Regions from separate parts of the Homo sapiens genome. Here region 2 is linked to region 1. Evidence: promoter capture Hi-C in human tissues and cell types (Jung and others, 2019). All regions are on one chromosome and are shown on one strand. The core of a region is centred on a gene start or on the middle of the fragment in contact, and the rest is flanking DNA. Distances in the headings are between cores, read along the strand shown. Region 1 holds the start of FGF2 (fibroblast growth factor 2). Region 2 overlaps FGF2 (fibroblast growth factor 2).

Evidence for each region. The method cuts DNA at HindIII sites, captures the fragments that hold promoters and counts their contacts. A contact is called where the count stands out against the background at its distance.
Region 2: a fragment that was not itself captured here is called in contact with the fragment with the promoter of FGF2 in region 1 in 5 of the 25 tissues and cell types used here (IMR-90 fibroblasts, aorta, hippocampus and 2 more).

The regions. Positions count from the first base shown.
Region 1 is chr4:122,824,491-122,830,028 of GRCh38, forward strand. FGF2 (fibroblast growth factor 2) reads left to right here and starts at 2,341. Exons shown (of 3, transcript NM_001361665.2): 1 at 2,341-2,862. The coding sequence starts at 2,685. RefSeq lists promoters at 1,200-2,382, 1,551-2,518, cis regulatory regions at 1,575-1,645, 1,646-1,684, silencers at 2,184-2,663, 3,004-3,298 and enhancers at 2,884-2,963, 3,246-3,771, 3,644-3,783, 3,772-4,297, 3,824-3,873. The HindIII fragment of the contact is 11,104 bases long and covers 187-5,538 here.
Region 2 is chr4:122,873,709-122,879,246 of GRCh38, forward strand. FGF2 (fibroblast growth factor 2) reads left to right here. Exons shown (of 3, transcript NM_001361665.2): 2 at 2,613-2,716. Among named protein-coding and RNA genes, the nearest start is that of NUDT6, 46 kb to the right of the region's middle. The HindIII fragment of the contact is 7,042 bases long and covers 1-5,538 here.

The DNA.
Region 1 (5,538 bases), core at 1,091-3,590:
CTCAGGTTTCTGTGACACAGAGTTCAAGTGAGAGTTCAATCATTCTAGGGACTACTCAGCACCACAGTAGCACCTACAGAGATCATCTGGAGGGAGTGATTTTGTCTCAACAGACGGATCTTCAATGAAGATGAAACAAATCCATTTTGGAGAGAGATGTTAGAGAACTGATGGCGTTCAGGACATGCTACCCAAAAATAATGGTACCTTGGCACTTAAGAAAAGAGCAGAAGCAAGAGGGTTACTTTCACTTTCCCCAGATCTTCTCTTCTGAGGCAGACCATAAGACCTTCATTCCAGAGGTGCCTTCCCTATACCTGGAGGAAACAGACATCCTTATCTCTGAAGACACACGGACAGGGAAAAGAATCTGAGCAAATAGGCCTTGCTAAGTAAGTCCCCCCAGTTTATTACCATTAGATCACAGATTTGTCCAATCATACTTCTCCATGACTTCCACTTCTTTATCAATCCTAGCCTTAAAAATACACAGGCTTCCCTCTTAACTTTGGGTCTTAATTTCTGAAGTCTCCTGTTTTGTGTAAAACTCACATAAATAAGTTAGTATGTTTTTCTCTTGTTAATGTGTCTTTTGTTACAGGGGCTTCAGCCATAAACCTAGTAATGAATGGGGAAATTTTTTTTTTCCTCCTCTATAGAACATATACCAACTGCAAGAAGAAAGAAGAATATGCCTGGTTTTGGGCCTGGCGCGGTGGCTCACGCCTGTAATCCCAGTACTATGGGAGGCTGAGGCGGGCAGATCACCTGAGGTTGGGAGTTCGAGACCAGCCTGACCAACATGGAGAAACCCCGTCTCTACTAAAAATACAAAAAATTAGCCCTGCGTGGTGGTGGCGCATGCCTGTAATCCCAGCTATTCGGTAGGCTGAAGTAGGAGAATCGCTTGAACCCAGGAGGTGGAGGTTGCGGTGAGCCGAGATCGTGCCATTGATCTCCAGCCTGGGCAACAAGAGCAAAACTCTGTCTAAAAAAAATAAATAAATAATAAAAATAAAAACAGTATGCCTGGTTTTAAAGCTTCAAAGAATTTACTCATTCTCCTGTATGTAACATTCTAGAAATGCATCTGGAGTTAAAGCCTTCTTGGAGACTTAAGAACAAATGCACTTATGCATGGCCTTTTGAAACCTAATGTTTCTACAAGGAGGCACGTCCATACTTGCAACTCCTTCTAGAAGCTTCCCCAAATCTCCTGCCTCCCCACGCTGAGTTATCCGATGTCTGAAATGTCACAGCACTTAGTCTTACTCTTCTATGGCCTACTTTCTACTGCTATTTGTGTTACTCATGCTACCCATCTTATCTCCCTCAGTGTGTGAGACGCTGGCATCAGATTTGGCATCTCCCACACACTCAACATTATGTGTTGCACACAGTAGGTACTCAATACATGCAAGTTTTCTGAATAGATATTTTCCTAGTCATCTGTGGCACCTGCTATATCCTACTGAAAATTACCAAAATGCAATTAACTTCAATTTTACATTTGGGATTTACAGAAAATAACTCTCTCTCCAAGAAATGCATAACAATTTAGCTAGGGCAAATGCCAGGTCCGAGTTAAGACATTAATGCGCTTCGATCGCGATAAGGATTTATCCTTATCCCCATCCTCATCTTTCTGCGTCGTCTAATTCAAGATAGGTCAGTAAAGGAAACCTTTTCGTTTTAGCAACCCAATCTGCTCCCCTTCTCTGGCCTCTTTCTCTCCTTTTGTTGGTAGACGACTTCAGCCTCTGTCCTTTAATTTTAAAGTTTATGCCCCACTTGTACCCCTCGTCTTTTGGTGATTTAGAGATTTTCAAAGCCTGCTCTGACACAGACTCTTCCTTGGATTGCAACTTCTCTACTTTGGGGTGGAAACGGCTTCTCCGTTTTGAAACGCTAGCGGGGAAAAAATGGGGGAGAAAGTTGAGTTTAAACTTTTAAAAGTTGAGTCACGGCTGGTTGCGCAGCAAAAGCCCCGCAGTGTGGAGAAAGCCTAAACGTGGTTTGGGTGGTGCGGGGGTTGGGCGGGGGTGACTTTTGGGGGATAAGGGGCGGTGGAGCCCAGGGAATGCCAAAGCCCTGCCGCGGCCTCCGACGCGCGCCCCCCGCCCCTCGCCTCTCCCCCGCCCCCGACTGAGGCCGGGCTCCCCGCCGGACTGATGTCGCGCGCTTGCGTGTTGTGGCCGAACCGCCGAACTCAGAGGCCGGCCCCAGAAAACCCGAGCGAGTAGGGGGCGGCGCGCAGGAGGGAGGAGAACTGGGGGCGCGGGAGGCTGGTGGGTGTGGGGGGTGGAGATGTAGAAGATGTGACGCCGCGGCCCGGCGGGTGCCAGATTAGCGGACGCGGTGCCCGCGGTTGCAACGGGATCCCGGGCGCTGCAGCTTGGGAGGCGGCTCTCCCCAGGCGGCGTCCGCGGAGACACCCATCCGTGAACCCCAGGTCCCGGGCCGCCGGCTCGCCGCGCACCAGGGGCCGGCGGACAGAAGAGCGGCCGAGCGGCTCGAGGCTGGGGGACCGCGGGCGCGGCCGCGCGCTGCCGGGCGGGAGGCTGGGGGGCCGGGGCCGGGGCCGTGCCCCGGAGCGGGTCGGAGGCCGGGGCCGGGGCCGGGGGACGGCGGCTCCCCGCGCGGCTCCAGCGGCTCGGGGATCCCGGCCGGGCCCCGCAGGGACCATGGCAGCCGGGAGCATCACCACGCTGCCCGCCTTGCCCGAGGATGGCGGCAGCGGCGCCTTCCCGCCCGGCCACTTCAAGGACCCCAAGCGGCTGTACTGCAAAAACGGGGGCTTCTTCCTGCGCATCCACCCCGACGGCCGAGTTGACGGGGTCCGGGAGAAGAGCGACCCTCACAGTGAGTGCCGACCCGCTCTCTCCGCCTCATTTCCATTTCGTGGGTTCTCGCCCGCTCTCTCCCCTCCAGCCTGCACCCTCCTCCCGGATCTTCACTGCGACCCTAGCGCTCCGTGTGGTTTCTGGCCGCGCGGCCCTCGGCGGTTTCGGGTTCACCACTCACCCCCTCCTTTCCGGGCTGCGGCGTAGGCCCGGGTGTCCCCTGGGCTTTGGGGTGTGCCAATTTGCCCTGTAAACCAGTACCCCCGGCCCGGAGCCGCGGCGCGCCGGGGCCTCGCGGACTGGCTGTCTTCCCGCGGACAACCTGTCGCGTCGGGGATGCCCGCGGCCCCGCCATGCAGCTCTGGCCGCTTCTATCTGCTGCGTGCTGTCCCGGGGACAAAGACAGGAAGGACCGCAGCAGAACGAAACGGTCTTTACTGGAAAAACACCTTTCTAGAGTCCTGCCCTTAAATTCCGACTCGGGACGACCCGAGGCATATGGCACACTACTCTCACCCACTCTGTTTTATATTTTTCCGAATTGACGAAAGCTGAAAGAGCAAAAACAAAAACCAACCAGCCAACCAGCAAAAAATCCAGATGTTGTTAATAAAGTGCCATAGCTTTGTTTCAGTAGTGAAAAGAAGTGCAAACACTTTAATCTTCCACCTGCAGTGACTAGCTTTGAGACCTTGAGCCGACGCTTAACCCCAGAGCCGGTTTCCTCATCGCTCACGTGGGGCTAATATATTACTACCTTGCAGCAGGCTTGAGGATGAAATGAGAATTGCAGTTTTGCTTTCTGTAAGAAACAATGTTTGTGGTTCTAGAAAGAACACTGGCCTAAATAAGGAGTGCTTGGACTTTAGGGGATTCCCTAAGTCTGGAGTGGGGGCTGAAGATTTGCATTTCTAACATGTTCCCCGGGGATGCTGATCACATCACACTTTGAGAGCCACTGGTCTAGAGGAAAGAGAAAGAAAGGGGCATAAGATGAGCCGATTTACAACACTGATGGAATTTGAAGTGAGAGAAAGAGGACTAGAATATATTGTAACCTGTCCTCCTGTAAGTGTATGTAAACATGTGTTTTAAAAGCTGTGTGTTATGGCGTTCCTTCCTTTATGGGTTCCAGGTGGAGAATCTGATTCTCTCATTGCCTGAGAAAAGACCCACAGGGGTCCCAGCGCCACTCCCCTGTAGTTCTGCCTTTGTCTTGGGATGCTAATGGGATGTCATGAGGGGAGGTGGAGGGGGGCTGGAAGAGAAGAAAATTCTACAACCAAACGTGAATTGGCAGAAGAATGGGCAATACACTTTCATATGAGCTGAGTCTTTATTGCTTCCAAAATAGCAACCTGCAAGAGAGGCAAGTATTTAATTTTTTTCAGGCTTGCCATAATTTAAAAATTTTATCAATCACTTAATCCCGTAAAACTGAAAAGATGCTTGTAACCTATTAGATGGGTTAGTGCTAGTTCTCTATTCTGGTAACTTGAACTCATCTATTTCAAAAAATTATCTTTGTGATTGAAGTTTGTTCTGCAGTTGTCTGCTACGCCATCTCAGCTGACAAGGGCAAGGTGCTGTGTGTCCCAATTGGTTTTGTTCTTTCTAGTATCACAAATTATTTATTAAAAAGCATGTATTATGACCAGAAGACAGAAGAATTTCCCTTTAAATTAAATTAATATTTGGGGCTTCCCCTAATACTCTTTTTTTTTCAGACTCTATTAGTTGCTGAATCATTTTTTCTTTGAAGATTTTGATACCCGATTCGCCTTAGAATAAAACTATGTAGAGGTTAGCCAGTGGACATAATTTTGAATTGCATACCACATTACCACCGTTGTAAAAACAACCGTTAACTTTTTCTTCCTAACTGTGAGTTGGGTTTTCATTTTTGTAATCTTACTTTAACTCTGTGGTTCTCAAATGGGGACGATTTTGCCTCCCAGGGGACATTTGACAATGCCTGGAGACATTTTTGGTTGCTGTAACCTGGAAGGGTGCTACTGGCATCTGGCAGGTAGAGGCCGGGGATGCTGCTGAACATCCTACAATACACATTATAATACCCTCAACAAAAACATTTTTGACCCCAAATGTCACTAGTACTCAGGTTGAGAACTCTGCTAACTTTATAACTAGCTAAGGACAAGACATTAAAAGGGAAATGTAGAATAACTCATCCAGACTTGTGGAGACTACCAATTTTTTTAAAATTTTTTATTTCTATAGGGTTTTAGGGACCAGGTGGTAGTTGGTTACATGAGTAAGTTCTTTAGTGGTGATTTGTGAAATTTTGTTGCACCCATCACCCAAGCAGTATACACTGAATCCAGTTTGTAGTCCTGTCCCTCCCCAACTTCCCACCCTTTCTTCCCAAGTCCCCAAAGAGACTACTCTTTTTTTAAAGGATACCTGTACCAGGCAATAGACTGACAAGAATACAAATCTAAAAATGACAAATTTCATCTATTTCTATGTAGCCCAACCTGGACATAAATTTAAGTACAGTATATTATTTTCTCACATATTGGATGTTTACTGATAGTTGACCAAACCATGAGGAGACCCCCCAAAACAAATAAAACTGACCAGAAAACATGGAGAAGAGTTAATAGTAGCCACAGTTTCCTACTACATTATGGCTCAGATTTCTAGACCTGTTTGAAAAGTTGAAAAATCTATG
Region 2 (5,538 bases), core at 1,168-3,667, 49 kb after region 1:
GGTTTTTTATGCATCTCAGCTCAGATAGTTTTTATAGAAAATCTATGATTTTGTGACTTCCTCAACTTCTTGTTGTAGACTCTGGTTATTTTTAAAACTTGTAATTTAAAAATTATATGCCAATGGAAACACTCTTCAAGAATCTTACATGTAATGCTTATTGCTTAGTGGTTTAATGAATGACAACAATCCCTGAGTGTGGGAATAGTTGAGGTCTACAAAAGGTTAATGAGTAAATGAATTATGTTTACTTTGGGTATTGAGTCACTGGTACTGATCTGGCCATACACGAATATCCCTAATCACCCTCATGACTAGTAATACACATTTATAAGATGGTGGACCAGAGCTGGGCTAGCGTTGATTGATAAGGGACAGAAAGAAAGTATAGCGATTGATTATTCAGCCTTGCCTCATGGGCATTTGTACATCCTTATGAGTTAAAGTGAGATGCAAATGCATTCTTCATTAAAATGGCTTATCTGAATCATTTTAGAGCTGTATGCAATAATTTGCTTATACTCATTAAGATAAGTTTGGTTATGTTGATTAAAAACAAAGCTTATTTTCTGCATTTTCCAATAATATTGTAAAAAATACTTCATACCCTTCATTGTTTGGGTTTCATGTCTTCATTACATTCCTTTTACTTCGTATTATCTTTTAAGATTTTGTAGAAGAATTTCACTTGGGTAACTGTAGGCTTAAATGATGCAATGCTTTCTGGAATCCAGGGGTGACTGACACACAGAGGTGACTCAGACATGAAATGTTCAACAAAATTCTAAGATTGTCTTTTTTTTAAATTGTAAATTCTTAAACATTCATAAAAGTAGTGAGATTAGAATAATGAAATCCTGTGCTTCTAATGACTGTTAACACAAGTGAATCTTATTTATCCTATCCACTTTATTAAAAATTTAGTTATCTATTATTTAAAATAATATATTAGCTTATTTTAAAGCTAATCCCAGATATTATGTTTCATTTTGCATGTCTGTTGCTGTCTTGGTAGGAAAAATTTTAAAACATAAATTACTATGACATAATGATATCTAACAAAGTTAATTATTTAAGAAACTTTCAAAAGTTGCTTTTTCATGCCGTTTCCCTAGCTACCTATAAACACCTGGAAATTATATTTATTTTATATTTCTAATGTTATTCAAATGATAATATGCTGATTTCTAAAATTGCATTTTTTTCTGTTGCTCTCAAGAATATCCTAAACATATCCATAGGATGTGGGATGACCTATGAAAATAGTCTGGACAAACATTTATCTTGTTTATCTTATGATAAGCAGAGTTCTGAGAAGTTTGGTAATAAAGAGTTAACTTGGTTTAACTAAGATTTTCCTAAATTATTTGACACCAGAACCTATTTTTTATTTAACATCTGTTAGCAAAAATATATTTGGGGGAATATTGTTCTAGGCAGGAGAATGCTGCCTCTGAATAGCAAAATAATCTTTACTTCATTTTTATTTCAATTAATTAGGTAATTATTTGTCCATATTACATTATCATCATAATTAAGTAATTTTTTTTTGTTTTTCTGTAATCTGCTTAATATTGATAATGTGGTGTGACAAGTCATCTTTCTCAGGATCTTATTTTATGAAAATCTTTCATCACACTTATTTTATGAAAATCATTTGCTGTGTAAGCAAATTAAGTATAAGCATTTTGTGTTTCCACTAGATAGATATTTGCACACAAAAAAATAGACATCAAAATCCCATATAGAAAGCTAAATGCATCTATAGTTCATTGAAGAGGAAGCTAGAAATAAGATGTGTAGAAGTCAAAGAAATAGGGCCGGGCGCGGTGGCTCATGCCTGTAATCCCAGCACTTTGGGAGGCCAAGGCAGGTGGGTCACGAGGTCAGGAGATCGAGACCATCTGGCTAACATGGTGAAACCGCGTCTCTACTAAAAATACAAAAAATTAGCTGGGCGTGGTGGTGGGCATCTGTAGTCCCAGCTACTTGGGAGACTGAGGCAGGAGAATGGTGTGAACCTGGGAGGCAGAGGTTGCAGTGAGCCGTGATTGTGCCACTGCACTCCAGCCTGGGTGACAGAGAGAGACTCCGTCTCAAAAAGTCAAGGAAATACAGCTCAAATTATAACAGTGAATAACTAGATTTTGTTTCATTTGTGAAGAATTGGCAAATAACTTTTAAATAGTTTCAACATAGGCAGTAGCATGGGAATTCTCCTACACTTTTATGTACCCTTAAAATATGTTCACTTTAAAAAATGTAAATAGTTAACAGGGGCGATTGAAAGCTAACTGCCCAACAAAGGAAACAATTCTCCGTGTGTCCCCCTTCTCTGCTCACCCTGTGACACCTTCTCTGCTCACCCTGTGACACAGGAGCGACAAGGAACTCACAAGGCACTGGTGCCCTAGTAGTTCTGCATCTCATCCTCTCTCATACAGTTTAGTTGACATCTGCTCCCTGTCACTCACCCATACCCCCAACCTCACCAATCCTCCAAAGTGGATTAGTTGTTGCTTAGGTGTGTTTTGTCTTTATATTGCGTAAATATTGTGAAGAAGGCTCTTTCCTCTGTGGTGCTACAAAGATAATTTTTTTTCCCGTTACAGTCAAGCTACAACTTCAAGCAGAAGAGAGAGGAGTTGTGTCTATCAAAGGAGTGTGTGCTAACCGTTACCTGGCTATGAAGGAAGATGGAAGATTACTGGCTTCTGTAAGCATACTTTCTGTTTTCACACGTTTTTTGTTAGCTTTTATTGCTGTTAATTTACCAGCATTGTTGTTTATCAAATCTTTATAAAGGATTTTACGTGTATCATCGTCATAGTCACCCTGTAAAATAGGGAGTATTTTCTTTATTTCACAGATGCAAAAACTGATGTGCTGAGGGAGTAAGTAAAGTAAGAAAACACAGCTCATATAAAGTAGAGACTGGATTGGGCTGGAGGCATTCCTGACCTCTAAGTCACTGCTTTTACTCTGCAAAACTATTAAGCTATAATTTAAAAAAAATTTTCTTCTATTATGCAGTTGTTTGAAGATCATTGGGAATAAATGTATACAATTTTGATTATTAGTTTTTAAGTTTCTTCTTTAGAATGTGACGTACAAAACACTAGCAATGTAGAACACTAGTTGAGAATGTAAGCTTTCTGCCTGGTACAGATGCCGACTCTGCCACTTATGAGCTCTGTGTTCTTGGGCAAATGATTCTGAGTTAGTTCTCTTACCTGTAAAATAGAAACAATGATACTATCTCATTGGGATTTTATCAGAATTTAATTAGATACTACACATCAAGTGCCCAAATCAGCATCTGACACGTAATAGATCCTGAAAATTGTTACTTCTTCCTCACATTACTTCTCATTTACATATATGTCAGGAGAGGGACTTTTTTTTTTCTTTTTTTTTTTGAGATGGAGTCTCACTCCACTGCGCAGACTGGAGTGCAGTGGCGTAATCTCGGGTCACTGTACCCTCTGCCTTCTGGGTTCAAGCAATTCTCCTGCCTCAGCCTCCCGAGTAGCTGGGATTACAGGAATGCACCACCATGCCTGGTTAATTTTTTTGTATTTTTTAGTAGAGACAGGGTTTCGCCATGTTGGCTGGGCTGGTCCTGAACTTCTGACCTCAGGTGATCCGCCTGCCTTGGCCTCCCAAAGTGCTGGGATTATAGGCGTGAGCCACCGTGCCTGGCTGTAGAGAGGAACTTTTCTTTTTTACATGTTATCACAGCTTATCAGGGGTCCTAGTTCCTGGCTAGTATTCTTTCCACTAGTACAGGCTCCCTGTCAACTTCACCATTATTATTAGAAACGGGACTGCATATCTGTTGAACATATGATGTATAAAGAATGGTGCAGGAAAATAAATATAAAAGACAGATCTCATTCCTGTCTCCGTGAGGGAGTAGATAGGACATGTATGTAAATGTTTGTGCGTGTGTGTGTTTCACAGCTCTTACACCAATGCCACTGGCCAGTTATGACATCTCTATATAACCTCCCCACAGAAAGGATCTAACAGTACTAAGAAATTGTGGTATTTTGAGCTATACAAATAGTTTTTGAAATTTCTTCTGAATGAAGACCTTTGGATTTCTAAAAGCACCAAAACAAGGCTTACAGAGAAAAAGGGTATCTAAACTATCCCAATTTCAGACTGACTGTATGACAAAGATATACTTACATTGATATTACCAGTTTATGTAATTTTTGCAGGATAAATCACAAGTTTGAGTGTAGTGGCTCTCAATTTTGGGGGGAGGTAGTTGAATAAATTTTAGAATTCTCTTTAAGAATAGCCAATACTTATTAAGTGAAAGTGTGCCAGATGCTATGGTAGGCATTGAGCTTATAAAATTGAATATCAAATTGTCTCTGCCCTTAATGAGTGACAATCCAGGGGAGGCAGAAGTGTAAATAAGTATTTATAATAATGTATAAGGGTTTTGATATGCTACTTCTATATTTTGCATACATGCATAGTAATATAGGAAAGGATAAGAAGTATTATGATATAGGAAGCAATATAGAAAATGAGGTAATTACATTTTTCTAGAATTGGGGGAGATGACCTATAAGTAGAATTTTAGACGTTGTAAAGGAAGGAGTTCAGCAGGCAGTCATGGGGCAGAAGAAATTGAGATGAAGGTATAGATAACTCTAGGACATAGGACATGAAAAGGTGTGGATAAAAAATCTACTTGATGTATCTCTAGAATTACAAGTAATTAACTAATGCTGGAATGTATAGTGCAATGGAGTAACTAGGTGGAAGGGAAGGGAGAGAAGGCTGGGGAGGTAGATAGACTGTCTGCTGAATCTGTTGAAGGGCTTTATACACCATGCTGACTATAAGCAGTGGAGAGCCATGAAGAGTTTTAAGAAGAGATCTAATTAGATTTAAATTTGAGAAAGATCATCCTGGCAGAAGTGTAGAGAATGGACTTGAGGGGGCCAAGACTGGTGGAGAGAGATCAGTTAGAAGGCCACTGTAATAGTCCAAGCAAGTCATGTTCTGATCCTGGCAATAACAGTAGGTCAGAGAGGAGTGAGGAAAGTGCTAGCACTTGTGATTGATTAGATTTAGGACTGAAGATGAAAGAAAAGTCAAAGATGGCTTTTAGGTTGCTGGTTTGGGTGAGAAGGTAGACGAGAAAGGGGAAGGAAGAAAAGAGCAAGGTTTGGGAAAAGGTAGTAAGTTCGAATTTAGACCTATTTAGTTTGAGTTGCCTAAGGGAAATTCAGGTAAAGATGTTCAGTGAGTAGTTGAAATTATAAATCTGGAGCTTAGAGGAACAGTCTACATTGATTGTTAGATAGATTTGGGTATGATCAGCATATAGGTGGTAGTTAAATTGGGGGAATGTATGCAGTTTCCTAGGTAAAGAATACAGCTCAAAACATTAACTACTTGGGACTTTCACTTCTTCTACTCTGTACTTGCCTTTTATTCTGCCAATCTATTGTCAGCTCAAGAGGTGATGTAATAGTTTGGGAATCTACCAAAGTAGCATTTTAAATATCTCCC